Regions from separate parts of the Homo sapiens genome. Here all the other regions are linked to region 2. Evidence: promoter capture Hi-C in 16 types of primary human blood cells and fetal thymus (Javierre and others, 2016). All regions are on one chromosome and are shown on one strand. The core of a region is centred on a gene start or on the middle of the fragment in contact, and the rest is flanking DNA. Distances in the headings are between cores, read along the strand shown.

The links. Contacts are between HindIII fragments. The CHiCAGO score rates a contact against its expected background, and 5 or more counts as called.
Region 1: a fragment that was not itself captured here is called in contact with the fragment with the promoter of MLLT10 in region 2 in 1 of 17 cell types (erythroblasts); the score reaches 6.5 in erythroblasts.
Region 3: the fragment with the promoter of RSU1 here is called in contact with the fragment with the promoter of MLLT10 in region 2 in 2 of 17 cell types (fetal thymus and total CD4 T cells); the score reaches 5.7 in fetal thymus.

Annotation. Positions count from the first base shown.
Region 1 is chr10:17,656,066-17,658,765 of GRCh38, reverse strand. All of the region lies in intron 1 of STAM (signal transducing adaptor molecule), which reads right to left. Among named protein-coding and RNA genes, the nearest start is that of STAM, 13 kb to the right of the region's middle. The HindIII fragment of the contact is 1,224 bases long and covers 716-1,939 here.
Region 2 is chr10:21,532,766-21,535,564 of GRCh38, reverse strand. MLLT10 (MLLT10 histone lysine methyltransferase DOT1L cofactor) reads right to left here and starts at 1,333. Exons shown (of 23, transcript NM_001195626.3): 1 at 1,045-1,333; 2 at 761-920. The coding sequence starts at 920. RefSeq lists enhancers at 1-335, 1,051-1,764 and silencers at 396-485, 626-965, 1,076-1,145, 1,156-1,685. The HindIII fragment of the contact is 10,036 bases long and covers 1-2,799 here.
Region 3 is chr10:16,816,027-16,818,726 of GRCh38, reverse strand. It overlaps RSU1 (Ras suppressor protein 1), which reads left to right and starts at 1,303. Exons shown (of 9, transcript NM_012425.4): 1 at 1,303-1,412; 2 at 1,643-1,754. The coding sequence starts at 1,646. LOC105376435 (a long non-coding RNA gene) reads right to left here and starts at 1,028. Exons shown (of 3, transcript XR_930708.3): 1 at 971-1,028; 2 at 1-46. RefSeq lists enhancers at 685-734, 765-854, 885-994, 1,665-1,824. The HindIII fragment of the contact is 3,392 bases long and covers 1-1,372 here.

The sequences.
Region 1 (2,700 bases), core at 78-2,577, 3.9 Mb after region 2:
CCTGTAATCCCAACACTTTGGGAGGCCGAAGTGGGCAGATCATTTGAGCCCAGGAGTTCAAGACCAGCCTGGGCAACATGACGAAACCTCTCCTCTACAAAAAAAATACAAAAATTAGCTGAACATACTCAGGAGGCTGAGATAGGAGGATCACTCAAACCCGGGAGGTGGAGGTTGCAGTGAACCAAGATTGCACCACTGCACTCCAGCCTGGGCGACAGAGCAAGACCAAAAAAAGAAGAAATGGACAGGTCAGGTAGGCAGAAAATCAGAAAGGACATAGTTGAACTCAACAACACCATCAATCAACTGTATATAATTGACAATTGACATTTATAGACTACTTCATCCAAAAACAACAGAATACACATTCTTCCCAAGCTCTCATGCAGCATTCACCAAGACAGACCACCTTCTGGGTCATAAAACAAACCAAGACAAATCTAAAACAATAGAAATCACATAGTGATTACAATGGAATAAACTAGAAATCAATAACAGAAAGATAGCTGGAAAATCCCAAAGTACATGGAGACTAACACACTTTTAAACAAGAGTAAAAAAAAAACTTAAAAGAAATTTTAAAATACTTTGAACTAAGTGAAAATACAACTTCGCAAAATTTGTGGGATGCAACAAAAGCAGTGGTTAGAGGGAAATTTATAGCATTGAATACATATTTTTAAAAAGAATCAAGATCTAAAATCAATAAGCTTCTACCTTAGGAAACTAGAAGAGCAAATTAAATCCAAACTAAGCAAGCAGAAGAAAACAAACAACAAAAATTAGAGCAGAAACCAATGAATCTGAACATAAGACCAATACAGAAAATCAGCACAACCAAAAGCTGGTTATTTTAAAAGATCAATAAAACCGATATGCTGCTAGCCAAGCTAAACTAAGGAAAAAAAAAAAAGAGAGAGAAAACACCAATTACTAATATCAGAAATGAAAGAAGGGACATCACTACAAACCCCATGGACATTAAAAAGAAAATGAAGGAATATTATGAACAACTCTATGCCCACAAAATTGATAACCTAGATGAAATGGACCAATGCCTTGAAAGACATAATCTGCTGAAATACATACAAGAAACAGACAATCTAAATGGCCCACATCTATTTAAAAAACTGAATCAATAATTAATAATCTTCTAAAACAGAAAGCACAGGCCCAGATGGGTTCACTGGTGAATTTTACCAAATATTTAAGGAAGAAATTATACTAATTCTGTGTAATCTCTTGCAGTATATAGAAGCAGAGGAGATACTTCCTAACTCATTCTGTGAGGCCAGCATTACTCTGATACCAAAACCAGACAAAAACATTACAAGAAAACTATAGGCCAATATCTCTCATGAACATAAATGCAAAAATCCTCAACAAAATGTTACAGGTAGTAAGACAGGTACGAGCAGGGCAGGAGAGGGTTCTCCCACACCCACTAGGAATGTTGGGTGATTCAGCAATTATCACATTGCCTCTCTAAAAGTGATAAATTGGCAGCTTGCACCAAGGAGAGAGAAGCTCCTAACAGTCCACAAGTGTTAAACATTAAAGTGTTAAATGAATGCAGGCACCAGGGAGAAGCAAAAAAGGGGGCTCCAATAAAATCTCAGGCACTGAGTGAGTGAGCCCAGGCAGGGGCATTAAGAGACAAAATGGCAGTATACGACCTTCCTGGGGCACTCCACCAGAAAAGGGAAAAAAGCCTCCGATGGGCATGCATACAACTTTCTAAACACACTGTGCATGCTCACCTCCCAAGTATAAGGAGGGCACTGCGCATGTGGGCCGCCCACTCTAAGGGAAGAATCACAGGAAAGGGGCCAACCTATAGAGTCCTGGGATCAAAGTTAAAAACCGCACTTACTCTTCAAGTCACCCACTTGGATTTCTTCCAAGGGCACTTTCCTTTCTTTCCTGCTGTAAAGCTTTTTAATAAACTTCCACTCCTGCTCTGAAACTTGCTTCATCTCTTTTTCTGCCTTACGCCCCTTAGATGAATTCTTTCTTCTGAGGAGGCAAGAACTGAGATTGGTGCAGACCCATACAGACTCACTGCCAGTAACTCAGATACCTTCCACCGATTACAAAAACATCAGCAAACTGAATCCAACAATGTATAAAAAGAATTACATATGCCATGACCAATTAAGATTCATCCCAGGTATGCAAGGCTGATTCAACATTTGTACCGTTACCCTCCAAGAAATCAGAAGACTCTTTTCTGGGGGCTCTATGTCAGCCCAAGAGGAAAGACCTAAAGACAGTAATATTGCAGGGGGAGGAGTGGAGAGGCAGAATTCCATAGTCAATGGCCCACCAGACCAACCTACAGTGAAGTTAAAAGTCAATGAGACCTAACCACATGATCAGAACTTCCAATGTGCTTTTGATTTCTCCAGTATTAGCCATGGGCAAACAAGCAAGCTATCTGAAACTATCTTTTTTTTTTTTTTTTTTTTTAAGACGGAGTCTCGCTCTGTCACCCAGGCTGGAGTGCAGTGGTGCGATCTCGGCTCACTGCAACCTCCACCTCCCAGGTCCAAGCAATTCTCCTGCCTCAGCCTCCTGAGTAGCTGGGACTACAGGCACATGCCACAACGTCCAGCTAATTTTTTTGTATTTTTAGTAGAGACGGGTTTCACTGTGTTAGCCAGGATGGTCTCAATCTCCTGACCTGGTGACTCACCC
Region 2 (2,799 bases), core at 84-2,583:
ACAACCAGAAATAAACTAAGAGGCTCCCCAAAAGTGACTTGGCACCGCCACCTCTTCAGCCACCTAGGCTGGTGGTGGCCTGCCGCGGCCACCCCACAGGCGCTGCAGCAGCCCCGCCACTCCCGCATGGTCAGCAACGGACTCCGCCATCTCCTCCGCAGACAGCTACCGGGCGGCGGCGGCAGGGCCCGAGCCTTCTGGCTCGGGGTGCAACGGGCCCCGCATCCCTCCCCATCTAAAGAGGCAAGGCGACCCCCAGCCTCCCCACACTGGCGCCGCGTTCCCGAGCCCGTCTCCACGCCACAGGAAGTCTCCAAACACTGCGGCAGACAGGCGGCTGCAGGCCAGGGGAGAAGAGGGCGCTCCACTCTCCCAAACCCACCCCCGTGGCCCCGGGAACCCCGGGAAGGGCGCGCACCGCCCCCGCCCCCGCCCCCGCCCCCACCCCGGCCCAGATCTCGAGGGCGCGGCCGCCGCCCTGCCCCGCCCCGCCCCGCCGAGTCAGCAGACCCCGGCCCCAGGCGCAGGCGGCGGCCGAATGACACTTGAGAGAGTGAGAGCGGAATCACATGACAGTCCGGGCCACACGCACTTTCTCCCACATGCGCGGCCCACACCCCCCGCGCCCCGCCGCGGACCCTCCGCGTCCCTCCCGCGGCCGCGGCACGGGGCGGGGGCGCCGGCGGTTGCGGCCCAGGTGGGGGCGGCGGTGACCGTTGGGCGCAGGCCGGCGCGCCCCGGCGGGCGGTTGGGTGTTTACCTTGATGCACCGCGACGCTGCAGCCGTGCCCGTCGCAATAAACCAGCGGGTTCTCGGCCCAGCCTCTCTCGTCTGAGCAAACGCAACAGCCTCCAATCATCTCCTTCATACTATGGGAGACCTCGTCCTCCAGTGACACGGGCCGGTCGCTAGAGACCATCTAAGAGGGAGTTGGGGGGACCATTAAAAAACACATGCAAGCCGATTAGTGCTTCCCCCCCACACAGCCCCCCGAGCCCGCCCCGGCGCCCCCCGCCCGGCCCGGCAGCCCACCGCTCGCTCACTCGGGCTTTGCCGCTCAGTCACTCACGTTCCGCACAGGAGTCAGGAGCCATGTCCTTGCTGATTCCCCCCACCTCCCCTCCACCGCCTCCTCCGCCTCCTCCTCCTCCTCAGCGTCTTCCCTCCCCACCTCCACCCGGCCGCTAACGCGGGCGCCCGGAGAGGGCACACATAATCAAGAGGGCCTCCGCACAGGCGCACTGGGGGGAGGGGGGGCTCCCGCTGGGCCAGGGGCAGCGAGGGAGGGGAAGGGGGCTGCGCTTCCTCCTCGGAGCGTCACTTGGCGTGCGCGCCCGTCCTGCGGCCGGCGTGAGGGAGGAGGCCTGGGCGAGGCTAGCCCTGCGTGCGCGCTGCCGCGGCCTGTTGGCTGCCCCCGGCCTACCTCCGGGGCCCCGTCCCCCTCCCCCGCGCCGCTCGCCGCCGCCGAGGTGTGCTGGGGGTGGGCGCGAGGGGAGCCGGCGGCGCGCGGAGGCCGGAATGAACGGGCGCGGGGGCGCGCACGCGGGGGCGGGGACGTTAGGGCCGCCCTCTGCAGCGCTGGTGGCGCGGGCCGCGTGTGAGCGTCGGGAAGAGGCCTGGGAGGTGGCGGGGGAGGTGGACGCCCAGGGCTGGGAAGGGGTTTTCTCAGAATCGCCAGAGGGGAGTCCCCGGGGGCATCATCTCCGTGCCCTGGGAACCTACCTGCTGGCCTTTTCCTCCAAGACTGGCCCGTGGAAAACGAGGGTGGGGCGAGTGTGCCAGCTTCCATGAAGGGTGTAATGAAGCATGGCTTCCTGCAGTTGGCCGCGCTAACTTCACAGTGCTGCCGCAGCCACTCCACCCATTAAATTCACGTCCTGGACTCTTCCCAAAGTTCACCCGCTGGAAGTCCTACCAAATCTGCCGCCCATTTTCGCACTACGTGGGCCCCAATGACAAACGAAAGTGTATTCCAGGCTGAAGGTCAAAAGCCTGTGTTAGGGCTGCACTCGGAGAGGGAACGCCAAGGCGCCCCTCAGCTCGGTGTGCAGGACAAATGGTGGTTTATCCGGAATTAGCAATATAATACGATGATCCGGAAAATGCAGTTGTATTACACCAAAAGGAAGAAGGAACTCTAGCCCTCCTAGTCAGTCGCTAAAACATAATTAACGCCATCAGACAGTGGCGTCCAGTTTTGATGGAGGATTCCTCTGATCCGGGTCTTTTCTCCAAATTTATACTTGGAAATGTGAGGTCATTTAAAAGTGGCAGAAAGATGAGAGCTCCCACCTCACAAACAAATGGAAAATGGATTAGGCCTATCTGCATAGATTAATTAGCTGGATGCTGAGCACTTTTAAACTAAAATCTTCCACTGTCTGCCTATTCCTTATGCATCCGTAAAGCCCAATATTGATGTTTAAGCAAAAAATGTCTAATTAGAAAAGTTTCGCATGAAATCAGAATTATGCATAGATTGTTTAAATGACAAGCCCAGTTAAAAGGCGAATTCATGACTTTTGATTAATACCTTGCAGGTACAAAATGGTTCTTTATCAGCAATTCGCATTATAAATGTGCTGATCTGGAAGATGCACTTTCACAGTGCTAAAGCATAGAGAACCCAAGTTCTCCTAGTCGGTCGCCAAAAGATAATATAATGGTTTGGGCTTTAAAAGCCTTCTAAATGTTCTTCTGATAAAGGGGGGTTAGAAAAGGTATCATGGCTGTTTTTCTATTTCAAATTAATTGCTAGAAATCTGTGTAAGAGTGATAATAGGTATACAGCACAATGA
Region 3 (2,700 bases), core at 54-2,553, 4.7 Mb after region 2:
GGAAAAGACACATCGCTTTAGTGGTGTTTCTCCAAAAATTCATAACCTGAAAGGGAACATCAAACTTACTTTGAAGGATATTCCACACAATACCTGGTCTGTATTCTTAAATAATGTCTAGTTCAATAAACATAAAAGCCAAGGACGGTTCCAGATCAAAGAAGACTAATGGAGGAATAACTCTTTCATCTGGAATGTTTTTTAAGCAAGAAATACCTGCTTTCGAATTTAAGAGTGCAGATCCTTTTTTTATCCAATTGGTTCGGAGATATAATTACATTATTTTACCACATCTCCTTAAGGCTTTGATCCCTGCTACAATCTACAATATATAAATGCATATGTGTGGCATCCGTCTTATCATCAATTTAGGTGACCAGTAGAAGAAAAGTGCCTGGTGCCAATTTTTATTCCATAGTATAAAATAGTCTCTCAGGACAGGGTTTTTGGTGAGAGAAGCACAGGATGTTGCTGGGTGACTGAGACTGGGTCAGGAAATAGGGAGGCAGAGGGCAACAGTTTCTCTAGAATTTAAAATTTGGTTGCTTTTGGAAGAGAAAGCAAGAGATTCCTGGAAGCCAGAACGTCATGTTTCACAAATGTAAAAGTCCTAGTTGGGAAAGACACATCGCTTTAGTGGTGTTTTCAAATGACTTTTAAAATAGTAGGGTTTTACTTGTAGGTTCTAGCTACAAGTAAAAAGGCTAAAAGCCAGCCTTAGAAACCTGTCAAAAAAGATTTCCAGCAGGGCGCTGGGGAAACGCAGACCGCGCCGGAATCCCCGCCTGGAGAAGCTCTTAATAGGGCGGGAAACTGCGTGCCCCACAAGGTCCCTCAGAGGCACATTGTGGAGACGGGCTCAGGGTAGCAACTTCTGGCGAGTGGAGCGGCTATTACACAAGCGAAACATTCGGAAGCAATTTACTTCCAGCTTTCGCAACACCCACCCTGAGCCACCACCCTCCCTTACACAGTCACGCCACAAACTTCCCCACTTCCGCCCACAGCCCTCTGGGCTTCGACCCATCAACTGAGCTTGCGCCAAGTCTACTGCGCACGCGCCAACTTCGGCCCAATCAGCGTCCCAAACCGTGGGGTGGACGCCACCGGGATAAACTATCCTCAGCGTGGGGCGGGGTCTCGAAGCCGAATAACGAACGTGATTAGCCAGCCTCTTCCACAGACTTTTAAGGGCGGAGCCTGGCCCTGGAGACACGTCTGGAGAGCTGTTCTCCTAATATGGGTAGGGTCGGGCGTGGAGCTGGCAGCGGCGCTGTGTGCGCCTGCGCGGGGCGCCGAGACAGGGCGTGTTCGCTGTTCAGTGCCGGTGTTGCAGGGAGTGAGGGCAGCTGGAGTGCGTTCTGCCGAAGCTTGTGGTTGCACGCCCATCGTCTTAGGGGCTACCTTCCGTGGTGAGTGTGTGCGGTGTTGCACTTGGGGTTGCTTCTCGCTGCGTGGCCGCAGCGGGGCTGAACCCTTCCCACTCCATCCCCTCCCCGCACCCGGACCAGCCCCTGGGACGCCCTCGGACGCCCACCCGCTCCAACCCTGGGGAAGCCTCAGAGTGGCAGCGAAGGCCTCTTGCCTTTCCGCCTCTGCGCTTGCTGTCATCGCCCACGTGCTTTGTTGTTGTTCGGTGCAGACCATGTCCAAGTCTCTGAAGAAGTTGGTGGAGGAGAGCCGGGAGAAGAACCAGCCCGAGGTGGACATGAGTGACCGGGGCATCTCCAACATGCTGGATGTCAACGGCCTCTGTGAGTTCTCGGGCAGGACTCTCCCGTGGATGAGCTGGAAGGCTTTCTAAGTTTGCCAATTCACTGCTGGTCCTGCTGTGAGCGATTGTACTGGTTTAGACCCCAGCCCCTGCTTGTAAACCTCACTTGTCAGGGGCTTCGCGCAGAGGGTTTGCAGTAGGATTTGTTCTGTTCCACCTGGAAAACGATCCTGAGAGTCCACGATGAGAATCACACAGACAGCTGTGCCTCATCGGTTGTCTCTGCTGTATGGCATTGAGGTGGATTTTCCACAGTTTGCTTAATAGTCACTTTAATTATAAATTGAAAATTAATTTTGAGTCCTTCTTCCTGTCTCCTAATACAGTCTTTGTCCATGAACAAATGACACAGAAAAGTTCCATGGTTAATAAGCATTCTTGTGCCTGGAGCGTTTTAAGCATTTCTTGAATCTTTACATTCTTCTGAGTATTTATTCTCCGAACTTGGTTCAGGCTTTTGTCACCTCCTCATGCTGTGGTGAAATCCTCCTAACTTGCCCTCTTGCCTTCAGTTTCACTGCCCAGTTTAATCACTGGGTCACTTTCAGTGTCATTTTCCTGTAACCCCTGTCTATGGTGTTACCCTCTCCCTTAAAACCAGGGATTGCAGATTCACATGCCTCCAAGTGAGGGCGGTCAGGGGCGGTTATGAACTAGGTGATAGGTGTCCCACTTGAAGGGGCCAGCTGCTGCACCTGCTACTCAGACACATGTCACCATAGGAATGTTGGCCCAATGTGCCAGATTATTTTCTTAAAGGAACCAAGATTCTATATTTTTATGTGAAATTTGCTAATTTTTAGATGTTGGCTACTAATTCTAATATTTGAAAAACCTGTGATAAGTGAGCTAAAGCAGTTCTTCAGGCTGACGTGGCTTTGGTTTAAACCCTCTCCGCACTTCTCCAGGTTGTCCATTATCGACGG